2 separate regions of the Homo sapiens genome follow, and region 1 is linked to region 2. The links are contacts of gene promoters, found by promoter capture Hi-C in human tissues and cell types (Jung and others, 2019). All regions are on one chromosome and are shown on one strand. Each heading gives the region's core, a stretch centred on a gene start or on the middle of the fragment in contact. The rest is flanking DNA. Distances are from core to core; before and after follow the strand shown. Region 1 overlaps EXT1 (exostosin glycosyltransferase 1). Region 2 holds the start of EXT1 (exostosin glycosyltransferase 1).

What was found. The method cuts DNA at HindIII sites, captures the fragments that hold promoters and counts their contacts. A contact is called where the count stands out against the background at its distance.
Region 1: a fragment that was not itself captured here is called in contact with the fragment with the promoter of EXT1 in region 2 in 1 of the 25 tissues and cell types used here (aorta).

What each region holds. Positions count from the first base shown.
Region 1 is chr8:117,795,024-117,800,839 of GRCh38, reverse strand. EXT1 (exostosin glycosyltransferase 1) reads left to right here. Exons shown (of 11, transcript NM_000127.3): 11 at 943-5,816. The coding sequence ends at 1,128. Among named protein-coding and RNA genes, the nearest start is that of SNORD168, 120 kb to the left of the region's middle. The HindIII fragment of the contact is 3,473 bases long and covers 2,425-5,816 here.
Region 2 is chr8:118,110,516-118,115,885 of GRCh38, reverse strand. It overlaps EXT1 (exostosin glycosyltransferase 1), which reads left to right and starts at 4,060. Exons shown (of 11, transcript NM_000127.3): 1 at 4,060-5,370. The coding sequence starts at 4,840. RefSeq lists silencers at 3,638-4,017, 4,118-4,207. The HindIII fragment of the contact is 7,998 bases long and covers 956-5,370 here.

The DNA.
Region 1 (5,816 bases), core at 2,912-5,411, 320 kb after region 2:
CAATGCCAATCATTTGCATGATCTAAAAATATTTAACCAACTTTAGGGGCAACACAGAGAGCTAAAAACATGGTAGCCATCTTTTCTATTTGTCGAGAGTTAATCTTTATTCTGGGTGAGCAGTGATTCTTTGGAGGGCTGATTGCCCTTTAAAAAGTAACCTTTGGGGGTTTTAGTCAAGCAGGAAAGCCAACAATTCTTGGGTTAAGAGAAGAACAGAATTTTGAGATTTTAGTATAAAGTTAGTCATACAGCAACATGCTCTATATACCACTGAATCTCACCTTCTCATCCTCATGGAGTCACGTCAATGGGGAGGCTACAGAAGAGAAAACGGAGTTTTAGATGCTGCGTAACACTAGCCTTGAGTGACATGTAAAAGGCACTATTTTGTTCTTCTTCAACTATATATGTGAATTTTTAACAAAGGATTTAGTAGGACCCTTATAAAGGTAAAGAGATAGTAGAAGGAAGGAAGTGATGGATAGAGAGAAAGATAGACTTCTAAAAGTTGGTGGGTATTTCTAAATCAACTACATAAACAGGAAGGATTTAGAAAACTCTTTGAAAGCAGAAACACATCTTTAATCTTAGTACTTGGTCCCAAGTGCAAAGAGAGGTTTTAGATTGAGTCACTGTAGTAGTCGAGTTTCAGTTGCTAAGTCGTGGACTGACCAGAGAATTAGTCAATAAATTTTAGAGAATTAAAGTCAACATGAATCTTTGTTTTTGTGTTTTTAACACTGAGGAACGTAGCATACCTTGGGAAAAACCAATATCAGCGATTGCATTTTCAGCAGGTGCATAGATGGTGAGACTTGGTGGCCGGGCCAGACCCCAAGCTTTGCTGCTTGCTCATTTGCCTGACTCCATTTTCTGCAATGTTTCCATCTCACCTTGCACTTCTCTCATCATTATCCTTGTTTCTCTCCTTCTCCCTAGACTTCTCGGGCTTCCCGTTGGGCTGACCCTGACCACTTTGCCCAGCGACAGAGCTGCATGAATACGTTTGCCAGCTGGTTTGGCTACATGCCGCTGATCCACTCTCAGATGAGGCTCGACCCCGTCCTCTTTAAAGACCAGGTCTCTATTTTGAGGAAGAAATACCGAGACATTGAGCGACTTTGAGGAATCCGGCTGAGTGGGGGAGGGGAAGCAAGAAGGGATGGGGGTCAAGCTGCTCTCTCTTCCCAGTGCAGATCCACTCATCAGCAGAGCCAGATTGTGCCAACTATCCAAAAACTTAGATGAGCAGAATGACAAAAAAAAAAAGGCCAATGAGAACTCAACTCCTGGCTCCTGGGACTGCACCAGACTGCTCCAAACTCACCTCACTGGCTTCTGTGTCCCAAGACTAGGTTGTGTACAGTTTAATTATGGAACATTAAATAATTATTTTTGAAATGATTGCTATGCAGGTTTAAACTTTTTTAATGATCAAAACTATTAAAAACCAGAGTTCTTTGTTTAATCAAAATTGTGTTGGTTGTGAATATTTCAAAGCTGCTATTCCTTTTCCCACAGACATCATTGTCATGGCCATGTAGGGTGCCCTGCAGTTTCAAAAGCTCAAACTTCGTGGAAAACACAATAAGTCACTCTACCCATTATCAAGAAATAACTGAGCATAAGTTGTAACTTCATTATTCAACTTTGCCAGTGCAAATTGTTTTCCACTTCGAATCTTCAAATCCACTTGAACTTTTATCTCTAAAATGTCGCTGCATGAAAGAAAGTATTACGACTTCCAGGTAGGCAGTTCTAACTGAAATCTCTATGTTTGAGATAGATATATATGATAATCGTTTTTCATTGGGGGGGTGGGGGGAATTAGTACCAAGAAAACACTAGTATAATTAAGAAATGTTCAGTTTGCACAAAGAACTATCCAGATAACCCACCAGCATGTTAGTGAGATGGAAATACAGACCCACAACAGTAACCCAATACTTGCAGGGGTTGGGGGCACGGTTATAGATTCAACCATTGACCTAAGTCTGCGTAGCACTGGGAAGAGGCTTTGGTTTAGAAGCCAAGGAATAATGAGTATATTGGGGAGAACAGATTATTTACAAGATGAACTCTTTAATGTTTGTGAGAATCTCAAGTTTCAGAGTTTCTCTTTTGAGAAAGAAAAAGGGGTAATAAGGTAGAAATTCACACCAATGAACAAGAGGATTGCTGCAAAGTAACTGAGGAGATGTCTCGCCATTGGGACCCTAATGCCATTTTTGGTCAAACATTGTTTTGAGCAAGAATCTGGCAAACAAAATAATCAACAACAAATGTGAATATAGTTTCATTTACTTTTAATTTTTAAATCTGTGGAAAAGTTTAGTTGTGCTTCTTGTTAAAAAGAACATTTCTATCCCTGAAAATGCTATCTTGGGCTTATGATTATTGTTAAACTCCAAGTATAAACTGAAAAAAAAAACATATCCCTAACTCTGTTATGAAAAATGGAGACTTCTGATATTAAATGCTTTCTTCTACTTGGAAGAGGCCAGAGAAAACAGGGAAGAGAAAGACATTATTGAGTTTGACCATGTATTATGCTGAATAAACAATAAGCACTTTAGAGTCCCTCCCTCAAACTCTCATACATTTCATATTTCTTTTCCATTTATTTTCAGTTTTGTTTTAGAAGAAAAGTTCATCAGAGAATTTTGTTCTGATAATTTCAAGTGGCCATCTTAGGTCAGTGGAAACCGTAAGTCCATTGGACTTTACCTCATCCTTTCTTTGTAGACATCTGGGAGAGGAAGAGGAGCTTGTAATGATAGCACGGGGATGGTGCTGTAAACAGGAGTGAAAGTGTTTGTGGAAGTCCAGAGAAGTGACTCAACAGGCTACCTAGCTGCAGAACAAGGAGTAGAGCCCACATATCCAGATGGTGTTTTGAGAGGTGCGTAGACAGTGAAATTCAATTAAAGAGAGGATTTTCTCCTCAGCCTCATGACTCAGAACAGCTCCCTAAATACCTCTCTCATCTAATTGGACCCATCCATAGTCCATTCTCAAACATGTGACATTTTCCCCTAAGTAGATGTGATTATCTCTTAGGCATTTGTTGAAAAATAATTCTTAGGTCCATGGTGCTTGCACTTGTGTCTTTTCTATAAAATGTTTGGTCTTACAGGTTTCATGTCATTTAAGCTGCACTTCTCAGCAAGTTAAAAGATTAGCAGTTAATCTTTATTCATTTGGCCTTTGTGAATTTGTATTTAAATTATTTTTTTCAGGATTGGCAAATTATTCTTGTTTCTCCTTTACCAAAAAATAAATGCGATATTTTGTTCAATGACCCCAAAACCAACTTGAAACTTAGGTGGTCATATTGGCTTGCAAAGCAATGTCCCTAATTGTACCAGTCAGTCACACAAGTGGATTCAAGGACCTGCTTTGCCAGATTGACCTGTCACCAAGCTCACAACACATATCCTCCACAAACAACATGTGTTATGTGAAGAAAAATGGTAATTATAAATAAGAACAGGATATAACACACCTTTCATCCACTTTAAATCTCCACAGTTTCATTTTATGTCATTCTCTGAGCAAATCTCTTTGGGATGTGAGCTAGCGTGTTCTTCTCCCATTTGGAATATAAGGCTGGGAATAGAACAATGCTTAACAAATCAGTGAAGCTCGACAGTAATATGTAATTTTAATTCAGTTAGGAAAGAGTTGTATTGCATTGCAACAAGTTGACAAATCATAGCCATCTCTGTAGGGTGTCAGGAATTATCTCCTGGTCAACTTTAATGATAACTAGGGGTCCCTAAGTGGGCTAACATGTGCTGCATTGGAGAGAAGCCAAGGGCTGAGAGTACAGTGCCAACCACGTAATGAATTGCTTGCAGAAATTCCAAAGAGGACTCAGCCACTTATGGATTTCCACACAGCATCTTTTCCCAGCTCCACATTAAGACACAGGATCTTAAAAGTAATTTTTTAAAAGCTGGCTGTGTATTTATTTATATGAAAGTGTTATAAATATCAAAGCTTACAAATACATTAATACATATCACCTTTGTTGAAGCTAGCAAAATGGCTCAAAATTGAGACTGTAGAGAAAAATCCATGAAATAATCACGATAGTCATACCACAAAAGATAGCATAGCTAGGTGGGCCTACCTGGTCGTATCAACACACTTTCAGATAGATGCTTCAAAAAAAAAGGGAAAGCTTGTTACTGGAATCTTATGTGCATTACAGTTTAATTTCTTCTTGTGACAAATGGTGCTCAAAGAAGGATCAATCCGGTTGCATCCTTCAATTTCCCTTTTAGAATGACTTTTGGTTTTCATTACAGTAGGCTATGTTAGCCTTTATTTTGGTGGTTCTCAAATACCTGGTGACTTGAAAGAGTATTATGCTGGTGGCCTTTCATAAAGGTTACTGAACTTTAATCAGGGGTGAGATGAATGAATGTGAATAGGCCTATATACTATTTTTTTTAATTAAAAAAAAAAAAAACAGGGCACTTGATTTAAGAACAAACCTGTTTAAAGGGCAGGATCAGGGGGAAGACAGCCTTACTAGGTTGGAATCTGAATGAGATTCTTGCTGGACAAGGCTGAATTATGGATGCAAAAGCCAAGCAAACTTCCCAGACCTGGAAGTGTCTTGTGTTCCCTTGGGTCTCTTGAGATCTCCAGTATTTAAAAGTAGCAGTTATTGCCATGAACTCTCAAATAAAAATGCTCCTGCCTCTTACTTGTGAATATAATCAACATGCAGCCAGTACATCAGGACCGCAGTTGCTGAATTCATTTACCTAGTTCCCCTTTACAGCGACTATGGACAAGAACCTTTCAGTTGGTTTTGTCATTCTTGGCCAGATTTAACCAAGAAATTTCTTTCACTATCAGCCTCATTTTCTCAGGCATGCTTACAGGGACAAAGTTGTTTTGAGTTGAGTTCTCAGCAAATAAGCATTAATATCAAACTGTGCTAAACTTGTCTCACTTGGTATAAGAACTTCAGCATAAAGAGATTAGTTTATCCTTTGACACCAAGTCTTTTTTTTTTCTTTGAGACAGAGTCTTGCCCTGTCACCCAGGCTGGAATGCATTGGTGTGATCTCAGCTCAGTCACTGCAACCTCCGCCTCCCCGGTTCAAGCAATTCTCCTGCCTCACCCTGCTTAGTAGTTGGGATTACAGGCATGTGCTACCACACTGGGCTAATTTTTGTATATTTATTAGAGACAGGGTTTTGCTATGTTGGCCAGGCTGGTCTCAAACTCCTGACCTCAGGTGATCCACCTGCCTCTGCCTCCCAAAGTGCTGAGATTACAGGTGTAAGCCACTGCGCCTGGCCCCCCTTTTTTTTTTCTTTAAAAAAAAAAAAAAGCTTGGGGGATTAAGTACCCTAAGATAGTGGTCTCTCCCATCAGTTCAATAATGCTGTACAGAACCTCTGGATAAAAAAGCTGTTATTTACACCATAATTGTGATGATGGATTTGACTCCTCAAAACCATCTCTCCCCTTTTTGCCCTTTCCAAAAATCAAAGGCTTTTGTCTCCATGAGTTTTACCTAGTAGGGATTGTAGTTGTCACTGGTCTAGAGTTCCAATACATTTTATATCAGGAACCTCAGTGAGCTACCCAGAATTGGAACTTAACATGGCCCAGCAACTAGGAGAAGAAGGCAAACCTTGAGAAAGCTGAGCCCTCAGGATAGCACAGTCTCACCCTTGTTTAAAATCAAGTCAGGCTAGCCTTTCAGTCACTCTGGTTTTGTAATGATTTGCCTTTTAGGCCTCAGGCCATTTGATTTCTGCAATAGTTTTCTGTTCTTCTCCTACAG
Region 2 (5,370 bases), core at 2,811-5,310:
AACATCTCCCGATTGCCCCAAACTCCCAGACCATGGCAACCACCATTATACTCTCTGCTTCTGTGAGTTTGACTTTTTTAGGTTCCACATATGGGTCAGATCCACACAGAAGTGCAGTATTTGTGTTTCTATATCTTGCTTCTTTCACTGAGCATAAGGTTCATCCCTGTTGTCGCAACTGGTAGGATTTCCTGCTTCTTATGGCTGAATAATATTCCATTGCATATATGTACCACATTGTCTTTATTCATTCATCAATCAACAGACATTTGGGTTGTTGCCACGTATTGGTTATCGTGAATAACACTGTAGTGAACACGGGAATGCAGATATCTTTTTGACATGTTGATTTCATTTCCTTTGGATATATACCCAGAAGTAAGATTGCTAGATGATATATGGTAATTACACTTTTAAATTTTTGAGAATTTCCCTATCATTTTCTACAATGGCCATATGAATTTACAGTCCCACCAACAGTGTGCAAGGGTTCTGTTTTCTTCATGTTGCCCCATTGTTATCTTTTGTCTTTCTGATTACAGCCATTCTAATAGGTATGAGGTAGTATCTCACTGTGGTTTTAATGTGTATTTCCCTGATAATTAACGATGTTGAACACATTTTTATATACCCATTGGCCATTTGAATGTCTTTTTTGAAAAATGTTTATTTAGGTCCTTTGCTTTTTTTTTTTTTTTTTGCTATTGAGTTGTGTGAGTTCTTTGTATATTTTGGATATTAACCCCATATCAGCATTTGGTTTGCAAATATTTCCTTTCCTTCTGTTGGCTGCCTTTTCATTTGTTGATTGTTTCCTTTACTGACTGTGCAGAAGATTGTTAGTTTGATGTATTTCACTTGTTTATTTTTGCTTTTGTTGCCTGTACTTATGAGCTCTTTCTTTTCGAGTTTGTACAAGTGCTGTGATGAAGCTGAATTTTACTAAGTCATTCATTCATTTGAATCAGTGATTGAGCTTCACTTAAGTGCCAGGTACTGCCCTTGGCATTTGGGATAAAGGAGTGAGTAGGACAAACAGTGCTCCTCCTCTCAGGGGCTTCCTTACTGTGAAAAGTTAACAAGCAAACGAACAGAGGAGATTTCAGCTAATAAGGGTTAGGAAAAAATAAAACAGAGGAGACAAAATGATGATACCATTGTAGGGGCTACTTTTAAGATTACAGTTGGAGTTTGAAAAGTGGAACTTAGGCTAATGGTGTTACACATGTAGAGCAATTTACAGTTTACAAATTGAGGCCAGGCACGGCGGCTCACGCCTATAATCCTAGCACTTTGGGAAGCTGAGGCAGACGGATCACATGAGGTCAGGAGTTCGAGACCAGCCATGGCCAACATGGCAAAACCCCATCTCTACTAAAAATACAAAAATTAGCCGGGTATGGTGGCGGTTGCCTGTAATCCCAGCAATTCGGGAGACTGAGGCAGGATAATCACTTGAACCCGGGAGGTGGAGGTTGTAGTAAGCTGAGACCACACTGCTGCACATTCCAGCCTGGGTAATAGAGCAAGACTCTGTTAAAAAGAAAAGAAAGAAAAAAAAAACTGCTGGCAAGAAAGATATTATTATCCTGACTTTTCAAACGAGAAACTGGAGGTCCACTGAAATTAAGCCACATGCCCAAGGTACTAGTAAATGGCAGATCTGGGGTCTGAATTCAAGTTTTCTCTAATTGTCAGCACCAAAGTTTTTCTGACAGTACACAACACTTTGGGATGTACAAGTAGAGATGGGTAACACTGGGGTCTGGGATAAGGAAATTAGCCATAATTAGGCAAGAAAAGCAGGAAGCACATGCCAAAACATAAACAGAACACAAAAGAGCAAGGAGGGTAGCTAGCTCCCCCTAAGGTCATGCAAAACAACTGGCAAGATATAGAGGGGCCAGGCGAGGTGGCTCATGCTGTAATCCCAGCACTTTGGGAGGCCAAGGTGGGCAGATCACTTGAGGTCAGGAGTTCGAGACCAGCCTTGCCAATACAGCAAAACCCCATCTCTACCAAAAATAAACAAAAATTAGCCAGGGCTGGTGGTGCACACCTGTAATCCCAGCTACTCCGGAGGCTGAGGGAGGCAAATCACTTGAATCTGGGAGGCAGAGTTTCTAGTGAGCCGAGATCCTGCCACTGCACTCCAGCATATATATATATATATATATATATATATATATAGAGAGAGAGAGAGAGAGAGAGAGAGAGAGAGAGAGAGAGAGAGAGAGAGAGCACCTCCAGTCCCACAGCCCCACTTCACAGGGCTGAGATAATCTGCACCCTGATCAGAAGAGAAGGCCTCCTGCCTTGAACTGTTGTTCTTAGCAACTTGGGCTGGGGGGAGCTTTGGGTCACATGTGGTTTCAATCACTGCCTTTATCTGCATCATTGTCACTGTATTTGGAAGATGACTGAATCCTTATTCCTGTCCCAGGCCTCTCTACATTGTGCAGGGGGTTCAAGTCAAATCTGGAAAAGCTGTCTCATCTTTGGCAGGTCAGAAATAGGGAGAGGCTTCACGAATGTATAGTAATGTCCCACCCATGCCCCTTCCCTGCTTTATTAAAACAAATCTGAAACAACAGAGGTCTGAAACTTTCCACTCTATCATTTCATACTGCCTTGTTATAACCCTGCCCTTCATCCACACCCCGCTGGGGTTTTTGCAGCCTGAGGGAAGCCGGGAAGTGTCTGCTCCTAGCTCTCAGTCACTCCCATAATAAACAATCACTAAACAGCCGGCTGCCCTAGGCAACTGTCTAGCTTGCCCGAGCCCTGAGACTTTAGCTAGGCCAGAGGGTGGGAGGTGTTTTCTGTAAAGCAGTGTTCAGGATCTGAGGCCAGGGAGTTTGACTTTGACCAGAGATACTGTTTGGGAGCCTAGCACATCTTTGTGGACCTGGAGGATCTTTAGCGGGACTGCTCCTCGGTTACCTGAGTTATCTAATGAAGTTCTTCCACTGGGAGTGGCAGGAGCTTGGGCCAAGGAGTGGGAGGTCAGTGAGGGAAGGACCAACTATTTGGCACTAATTGTACATAAGGTAGTTTTCCTGATGCAAGTGTTCCTTCTATAGCTGGGACAGTTGGCAATTCTACCAGTCATATGTCCTTAAGAGATATCTTTAACACCACCACCACCACCACCACCACCAAGAGAATAACATCACTTTGAGGACTGGGGCAAGCTTAAATTAACTGGTTTCCCTGCAGCCATTAGAAAATTTATTTTTTCTCTGTGATTGGATCTCTTGGAAGCTTTCTTCATAATAGACAGAGGGGGCTCAGGCAAGGCGGCCTAAGTAGATAATGAGGATTTAGGATAGCCGTCTTACACTCTTAGCACAGAGGCAGGCATGAAGAATTGCAACAATTCCTCTTGATTGTAATAATTCCTCTTTATTGTTGGGCATTGGGGTGTTTCTTTGGTTTAAAAAAATGTGCTATGTAGAGGAGGAGTAAGGGGAGATTGTTTTAATGCTTAGCAGAAAATTGAAATACTGGGTCTCGGAGAGTGGAAGGAGGGCTGGGAGAGGCAGCTTTCGGATCGGCGGTCGCTTTCTATGAAGTCTTCCTTTCCTCCCTGCTTCCCTCCTTCAAAGCATCTTTCTCTAGGCGTTCCGGCAGGCAGCCCAGGAGGCCAGATTCTCCAGGGCGCCCGGGGCCGCGCGGCACGGGGCCCCTGCCGGTGCCTCCTTCCCCGGCCGCCGCGTTTCCGCAGGCGCCTCTGGTCCCCGGCACGGCGCAGGCCGAGATCCGGGCCTGGGCGCGCCGAGGGGCCGCGGGGCTCGCACCGGGCCGTCCCGCGCTCCACCTGCCCGGCAGCCCGCCGGCAGCTTGCAACCCGGGAGCCCCGGCTCCCTGCGCCCCCTACGCCCCCAACGCCGCGCCGGCGCCTCGGCCCGCGGCCGGGGGTTATGAATGGGCGCAGCGGAAGCACCGCCCCCCCCGGACGTGACGCTCGGCCAATGGCAGCGCGGGCTGCGTGGATGGATGAGGTCAGCGCTGTCGTGTCGGGAATGGAATGTGTAAGTGTAACATTCAGAACCGGGTAACATTCGGCGACCGAACGCGGCGGTCGGCAGCGTTCGCGCGGGGGCCTGCGAAGCGCTGCTCGGGGCCGGCACTGCCCGCGGGGAGGACGCGCCGCCGCCGCCACCCAGCGCCGCCGCCGCCGCCGCCTCCAGCCGGGCCGCCGCGCGTCCCGGGGGCCGGCCCCGCGAGCGCAGGAGTAAACACCGCCGGAGTCTTGGAGCCGCTGCAGAAGGGAATAAAGAGAGATGCAGGGATTTGTGAGGTTACGGCGCCCCAGCTGCAAGATGCACTAGCCGGCTGAACCCGGGATCGGCTGACTTGTTGGAACCGGAGTGCTCTGCACGGAGAGTGGTGGATGAGTTGAAGTTGCCTTCCCGGGGCTCATTTTCCACGCTGCCGAGAGGAATCCGAGAGGCAAGGCAATCACTTCGTCTTGCCATTGATTGGGTATCGGGAGCTTTTTTTTTCTCCCCTCTCTCTTTCTTTTCCTCCGTCTTGTTGCATGCAAGAAAATTACAGTCCGCTGCTCGCCCGCCCTGGGTGCGAGATATTCAGCCCCGCTCTCTCCCGTGCATTGTGCAACCCAAAGATGAAAGACCGAAGGGGAGAAAGTTAAAGAAATCGCCCACATGCGCTGGATCAGTCCACGGCTTGGGGAAAGGCATCCAGAGAAGGTGGGAGCGGAGAGTTTGAAGTCTTTACAGGCGGGAAGATGGCGGACTGGAGCTGAAAGTGTTGATTGGGAAACTTGGGTGATTCTTGTGTTTATTTACAATCCTCTTGACCCAGGCAGGACACATGCAGGCCAAAAAACGCTATTTCATCCTGCTCTCAGCTGGCTCTTGTCTCGCCCTTTTGTTTTATTTCGGAGGCTTGCAGTTTAGGGCATCGAGGAGCCACAGCCGGAGAGAAGAACACAGCGGTAGGAATGGCTTGCACCACCCCAGTCCGGATCATTTCTGGCCCCGCTTCCCGGACGCTCTGCGCCCCTTCGTTCCTTGGGATCAATTGGAAAACGAGGATTCCAGCGTGCACATTTCCCCCCGGCAGAAGCGAGATGCCAACTCCAGCATCTACAAAGGCAAGAAGTGCCGCATGGAGTCCTGCTTCGATTTCACCCTTTGCAAGAAAAACGGCTTCAAAGTCTACGTATACCCACAGCAAAAAGGGGAGAAAATCGCCGAAAGTTACCAAAACATTCTAGCGGCCATCGAGGGCTCCAGGTTCTACACCTCGGACCCCAGCCAGGCGTGCCTCTTTGTCCTGAGTCTGGATACTTTAGACAGAGACCAGTTGTCACCTCAGTATGTGCACAATTTGAGATCCAAA